Regions from separate parts of the Homo sapiens genome. Here region 2 is linked to region 1. Evidence: promoter capture Hi-C in 16 types of primary human blood cells and fetal thymus (Javierre and others, 2016). All regions are on one chromosome and are shown on one strand. The core of a region is centred on a gene start or on the middle of the fragment in contact, and the rest is flanking DNA. Distances in the headings are between cores, read along the strand shown. Region 1 holds the start of HOXD13 (homeobox D13). Region 2 overlaps HOXD3 (homeobox D3).

Region 1 (3,405 bases), core at 255-2,754:
CAGGGCATCTTTGGTCGGGGAACAGTGGTGCTGGGTGACAAGCTTTCACCAATCACAGGCTTAGGGGAGTGATTTTCTTGGAGATGGGCTGGCTTGGGGAGTGCATGCCACAGAACCAAATGGGCTCTGAAGGATCCCATATCCACCCCCAGAACCCTGGGCTCATTGGATCTAATATTGTTCCTAAGGCAGAGCCCCAAAGTCACAGCAGGACTCTCATTGGTGCCCCATTAGTTGCTGAGATTGAGGGATGGTGGGCTGGAGCTCTGAGGCTGAGGAGCAACAGAAAGGGATGATGAGGGACAGGGCTGTAATCCCTAACACCCTGGCAGCTTGGTTCCAGAGCTGGACCTAGCCCCACCAGCACTGCCCTGAGCCCACCTAACCCCTTGAAGTCAGACCGTTTCTCTGGGCTGCTCCTATCACAAAATCCGAATTTGCTTGGAACAAGCGCCCTCTTAATTTGCCCCTCTCAGTTCTCTGCAGTTGACAGCTTGGAAAAGGAAGCGAAACAAAGGTCCCTGGGAAAGTGAAGTTTTCAATTAATTTGGTGTGAGAAACGGGCGGGAGTGGGTGGTGACTGCAAAATGCGAGGCCGGTCGGCTGCTGGAGAGACACAGAAGTTTCACGGTGGGAGGCTGAGTGGCTTTCTCCCCCGGCGCCGTTCTCAGGGTCTTTCTGCGGGTCGAAGAAGGACCCGCGGGAGCTGAGAGGCCCAGGTCGGAAGCACTCCCGGCTGGCCCAAGAGTAGAGGCGAAGAGCGTTGAGTAGGCATCCATGGACTTTTCTTTCTGGGACAGATTGTCAGGCTCACTGCGCCGATGCCTGTCTTTCATCTGTTTAAGTCTCTGCCGCCAGCCCCAAGGGCGCTTCATGGGCATTTTCCGAACGGACAGCGTGTGTGTATAGGAAGGGTCTGCTCCAATGCCTCTTACCTGTGTGAAATGCCTTTGCCGGGTACCAGTGCACAAGGTAGGGCAAATTAGCTCACTCGGATTTGGGGTCTAGAAGTCGACTAACTGAGGGATTCAGCAACAGGATAAAAAAATGGGCCTGTTTTCACATCATTCTGATCATCTCTGTCCTTCGTCTTCATTTTGCTGTGCAACTCGGGGAGCCGAGGAGAGGTGGCAAAAACAGCGGTTGCCGAGACAAGGCGCAGGCCTTGGCGCCCGCCTCAGTCGCAGACAGGGCCTGGGATGGGCCGTCGCGCAATCAACTCGTGGGGGTGGCTGCAGCGCGTACGCCTGGGTCGGGGGGGAGGGCGGGAATGGGAGGTGGACCCTGCAAGGGGCAGGAGAGGGGTGGGGGCCGGAGTGGGTGGGTCCAGCCAGGCCTGGGCCGGGAGCCAGGCTCCCCCGCGTTCCTACCCCCACGTGGCCGCGCGCAGCCAATGGCACGCCCCCGGCGGGGGCCCTCGGGGCGGGAGGCGGCCCCCCGACCGGCCCAGGCCCCCTCCCAACCTGAACTTCGTTTTTATAAACGTCCCGCGATGAGCTAACCTGTTGGAGGGCAGGCGGGCCGGAGGCGGGAGGCTCACAGAGGGAGAGAGGGCTAGAGGAAGAGGGCGGGAGCGAGCGAACCAGAGAGAAAGGAGAGGAGGGAGGAGGCGCGCCGCGCCATGGTGTCCTGCGCGGGGCCAGGGCCAGGGCCGGGGCCGGGCCAGGCCGGGCCATGAGCCGCGCCGGGAGCTGGGACATGGACGGGCTGCGGGCAGACGGCGGGGGCGCCGGTGGCGCCCCGGCCTCTTCCTCCTCCTCATCGGTGGCGGCGGCGGCGGCGTCAGGCCAGTGCCGCGGCTTTCTCTCCGCGCCTGTGTTCGCCGGGACGCATTCGGGGCGGGCGGCGGCGGCGGCAGCGGCGGCTGCGGCGGCGGCGGCGGCAGCCTCCGGCTTTGCGTACCCCGGGACCTCTGAGCGCACGGGCTCTTCCTCGTCGTCGTCCTCTTCTGCCGTTGTAGCGGCGCGCCCGGAGGCTCCCCCAGCCAAAGAGTGCCCAGCACCCACGCCTGCAGCGGCCGCTGCAGCGCCCCCGAGCGCTCCAGCGCTGGGCTACGGCTACCACTTCGGCAACGGCTACTACAGCTGCCGTATGTCGCACGGCGTGGGCTTACAGCAGAATGCGCTCAAGTCATCGCCGCACGCCTCGCTGGGAGGCTTTCCCGTGGAGAAGTACATGGACGTGTCAGGCCTGGCGAGCAGCAGCGTACCGGCCAACGAGGTGCCAGCGCGAGCCAAGGAGGTATCCTTCTACCAGGGCTATACGAGCCCTTACCAGCACGTGCCCGGCTATATCGACATGGTGTCCACTTTCGGCTCCGGGGAGCCTCGGCACGAGGCCTACATCTCCATGGAGGGGTACCAGTCCTGGACGCTGGCTAACGGGTGGAACAGCCAGGTGTACTGCACCAAGGACCAGCCACAGGGGTCCCACTTTTGGAAATCTTCCTTTCCAGGTAGGGGCGATGGAGAAAAGGGACCGACACGAGGGAGGGGGAGAGAGAAGGAGAAAAGAAAGGACTAAGAGTATGCGCCCCTACTTGGGAGTGGGAGTTGTGCCTGTGCTCCACACGTGACCAGGGTTAACCCAGTGGAAATTTGTCCAGTTCGTGTGAAATCTGTAAATTCCTCCTCTGATTTCAACTGCCTCCGTCACTGCCCTTTCTTTCCTGTGTGCAGCGCAGACACGTTTTTCTCCTAAAGTTGAGAGTCTCTGCGTGCCCTTTCCTTGGGCCTCTCCCTTTTCTCCTAAAGAGAACTTTTTCCTAAGAAACCTGACAGAGTTGGGTCCCCCCATTTTCAAAGACATCACTGCCCCAAGATGACTACTAAAGCTTGTTAGATCAAGCTCACGAACTCCTAACATAGGAACGCGGGAAATCAAAATTTGAGCAAAAGACCTGAGTTGGTATGTGTCTATGTATGTAAGTTTGTTTTTATACAACCGACATTTGCAGAAACTGTCCTCATGAACGTGCCCAATAACCACACCATAAAATTGCAAGCTTGTTAAGATGCCGGTTTGAGAAACTATGATAATCAATCAAATTAACCATTGTTGTTAAGTGCAAATAATCCTTCTTTAATAACAGGTAAGTGTTATGTCTATGTACATAATAAAGACCAAACAGCATGGCATTTTTTAAAAATTTCCTGCACCCCTGCAAACGCACACACACACACACACACACACACACACACAATCCTCAGCTAGGTGCTCCGAATATCCCAGCCTAATTTTTCTTGTGCTTTTGTTTGTATCAGGGGATGTGGCTCTAAATCAGCCGGACATGTGCGTCTACCGAAGAGGGAGGAAGAAGAGAGTGCCTTACACCAAACTGCAGCTTAAAGAACTGGAGAACGAGTATGCCATTAACAAATTCATTAACAAGGACAAGCGGCGGCG
Region 2 (3,405 bases), core at 607-3,106, 76 kb after region 1:
GGAATACAAAAGGGGTAGGATTTTTCTTAGCTTTTTTTTCTTCTTCTAATTCTGGGTCCATTCATCATGTCATGAAAGGTTCTCTCATTGGTTGTGGTTTGGGTGGGAGGTAGGGTAGAATAGATTATCCAGAGCAGATGTCAATAATATCTATTTATACAATAGATCCAAGGCAAAAATAATAAAGTTATAAAGCATTCTCCACTCACCCATGTTCCATGCATTTCAAATTCTAGATCTCTTTGCCCATTTCCAGTGGTATCTGTTTAAAAGTAGGGGAGGTCAAAAGTAAAAGGTCTAGAAAAATGTAAATGAAAGAGAAGAAACATTTTCTAGCCTCAAAATGAGTCTGGAAGTCTGCAAGTCCTCCTGTTGGTGTTTATCCCCTAGTTTTCTACATTGTAGATTTTACACTGCTGATTCATAGAGCTTACTCAGCTGATTTTCACCCTGTCATCGTTAAGTGGACTATCTGGACTTTCATGCAAGATGCTGTGATTTTGAAACCAGGTGGGGGGAGACCCTTTTTTTTTTTTTTTTTTTTTTTTTTTTTAAGTTCTGGCTGTTCTGAGCATGTTATAGGACTTTCATTTCCCATCAAAACCTTGTGCTGACCCAATGATTGACTGATTGATCCACTTATTAATTCACCTATTCAACAAGCATTTATTGCACTAACTACATGCAGGGCACTGTGCTGGATGTTAGGAACAGTAGACAAATGACACAGCCCCTGCCTGCAAGGAGCTTACAGTTTAGTGGGCGAATCAGCCAACAAAATGTCTGAGGCTATAAGTACTTTTCCACACAGAAGAAAGGCTAAATGGACAATCTTGAAGAAAGTAAATTGTATCTGGAGGTAGAGGGAAGCCCTTTCCCTCAGCTACAGTTGAGCTAAAAAGAAGGAAACTCTTCTTACATTTAGGAAAAATTCCTTCTGATACTTCCAGAGGTTCAAATAAGTTGAACTTCATAAAATCTGCCAGGCGCAGTGGCTCATGCCTGTAATTCCAGCACTTTGGGAGGCCAAGACGGGAGGATCACAAGAGCCCAGGAACTCAAGACCAGCCTGGGCAACATTGTAAGACCCTGTCTCTACAAAAAAAAAAAAAAAAAAACTAAGAGCTGGCGCAGTGGCTCACACCTGTAATCCCAGCACTTAGGGAGGCCCAGGCGGGTTGATCACCTGAGGTCAGGAGTTCAAGACCAACCTGACCAACATGGTGAAACCCTGTCTCTACTAAAAATATAAAAAATTAGCCAGGTGTGGTGGCAGGTGCCTGTAATCCCAGCTACTCAGGAGGCTGAGGCAGGAGAATTGCTTGAACCCAGAGGCGTAGGTTGCAGTAAGCTGAGATCATGACACTGCACTCCAGCCTTGGCAACAGGAGCAAAATTCCATCTAAAACAAAACAAAACAAAACACTAAGACATGTAGCCAGGCATGGTGGGCACCTGTAGCTACTGCAGAGTAGCTGGGACTCTGAAATACTCTGAAATAGCTATTAATACTGCAGAATAGCTGGGACTTTGAAATACTCTGAAATAGCTATTAATACTGCAGAATAGCTGGGACTTTGAAATACTCTGAAATAGCTATTAATACCAGGCTAAAGTGGGAGGATCGCTTGAGCCCAGTAAATTGAGGCTGCAGTGAGCCATGTTCATGCCACTGCACTCCAGCCTGGGCAACAAGCAAGACACTGTATTAATAAATAAATAGATAAGTAAATAAACTCAGATCCAGCACCTTGCCCATCTCCCCGCCGTGAAGTGGGTAGGAAGCAGAGAGCATGGGCTAGTCCTTCTATATTGACTGGTCTTGCCAATGACACTCCCTCTGGGGCCTCTTGCTTTTCTTCTGACAGGTCACCTGGAGCCTGGGGGCCGGCCCAGCTCTCTCAGGATTCAGCAGACATTGGAGGTGGCAGTGAAGGATACAGTGGTAGTCAATGTTATTTGAGCAGGGTCAGCAGGCCCTGGAGCTTCCTGAGTGCACAATGCAGAAGGCTGCTTACTATGAAAACCCAGGACTGTTTGGAGGCTATGGCTACAGCAAAACTACGGACACTTACGGCTACAGCACCCCCCACCAGCCCTACCCACCCCCTGCTGCTGCCAGCTCCCTGGACACTGACTATCCAGGTTCTGCCTGCTCCATCCAGAGCTCTGCCCCTCTGAGAGCCCCAGCCCACAAAGGAGCTGAACTCAATGGCAGCTGCATGCGGCCGGGCACTGGGAACAGCCAGGGTGGGGGTGGTGGCAGCCAGCCTCCTGGTCTGAACTCAGAGCAGCAGCCACCACAACCCCCTCCTCCACCACCGACCCTGCCCCCATCTTCACCCACCAATCCTGGAGGTGGAGTGCCTGCCAAGAAGCCCAAAGGTGGGCCCAATGCTTCTAGCTCCTCAGCCACCATCAGCAAGCAGATCTTCCCCTGGATGAAAGAGTCTCGACAGAACTCCAAGCAGAAGAACAGCTGTGCCACTGCAGGTAGCTCCCTGAGGTGGCCTACTGCCAGACCAAGCCCCCTCCAGATTGACCCAAGGAAGCCTAGTCAGGGCTGGAAATGCAACCTTGGAGGTCATATGTCTAAACTCCTACTCACGTCAAAATGTTCTTTTTTTTAGTGTTCCTGATTGGGGTCATGACCTTGCAGTGACAGGGTGCTCCCTTCCATTCCAGGCTGCTGGTGCTGTTGCTGGACAGGTCTTATAGCTATTAATAGAGAGTGCTTCCTTATATGGGCATATCTGTTTTCCTGGGCTGCTAATTATAACTCCATTCCCTCTTCCACCCAACAGCTCTTCAAGATTTGAAGATAGGTATTACAATCCCCAAGCCTAGGTGATTATATAGCCCATATCACACGAATCTCATTCCCTTAAACTCATAAAAACTAAAGTCTTAGAAAGTACCATACTAAGTACTTTCTAAGCATTATCTAATTTAATTTTTCAAAGAACCTTTTGAGGTAGGTATATGATAACATCCCCATTTTACAGATAAGAAAACTGTTAGAGAGGATAGGCAACTTGCCCAAGATTCTGAAACTGCAAAGTGGTGGATTTGAATCCAGTCAGTCTGGCTTTAGGGGCTGCTAAGCATAACCATGAGTCTCTATTTGGCCCACCTCAGCCCAATTCTCCCACTCCAGCAAATCCATAATGGGGAGGTGCCTGTCCTAGTAGGAGAGGATATTCTGGGAGACAGTAACAGCCTTGGATTTCTCTAACTGGAAGGGGAGCCCCTCCAGTTGGGGCCTTCTCTAGGTCCACCCAGGGCATGTAGAAGATAGGCATGGCCAGGAACTCTGAGGGCTGTTCCTTCTCTCTGCTTAGACTGCTTGGTTCCTGAAATTTTCTGACCTTGTGGTATCTGATGTGGTTTATCTTCAGGTAGATG

Evidence for each region. Contacts are between HindIII fragments. The CHiCAGO score rates a contact against its expected background, and 5 or more counts as called.
Region 2: a fragment that was not itself captured here is called in contact with the fragment with the promoter of HOXD13 in region 1 in 1 of 17 cell types (naive B cells); the score reaches 5.8 in naive B cells.

Annotation. Positions count from the first base shown.
Region 1 is chr2:176,091,217-176,094,621 of GRCh38, forward strand. HOXD13 (homeobox D13) reads left to right here and starts at 1,505. Exons shown (of 2, transcript NM_000523.4): 1 at 1,505-2,455; 2 at 3,264-3,405. The coding sequence starts at 1,675. The HindIII fragment of the contact is 2,791 bases long and covers 41-2,831 here.
Region 2 is chr2:176,167,163-176,170,567 of GRCh38, forward strand. It overlaps HOXD3 (homeobox D3), which reads left to right. Exons shown (of 4, transcript NM_006898.5): 3 at 1,869-2,493. The coding sequence starts at 1,953. Among named protein-coding and RNA genes, the nearest start is that of HAGLROS, 9.3 kb to the right of the region's middle. RefSeq lists a silencer at 3,359-3,405. The HindIII fragment of the contact is 9,103 bases long and covers 1-3,405 here.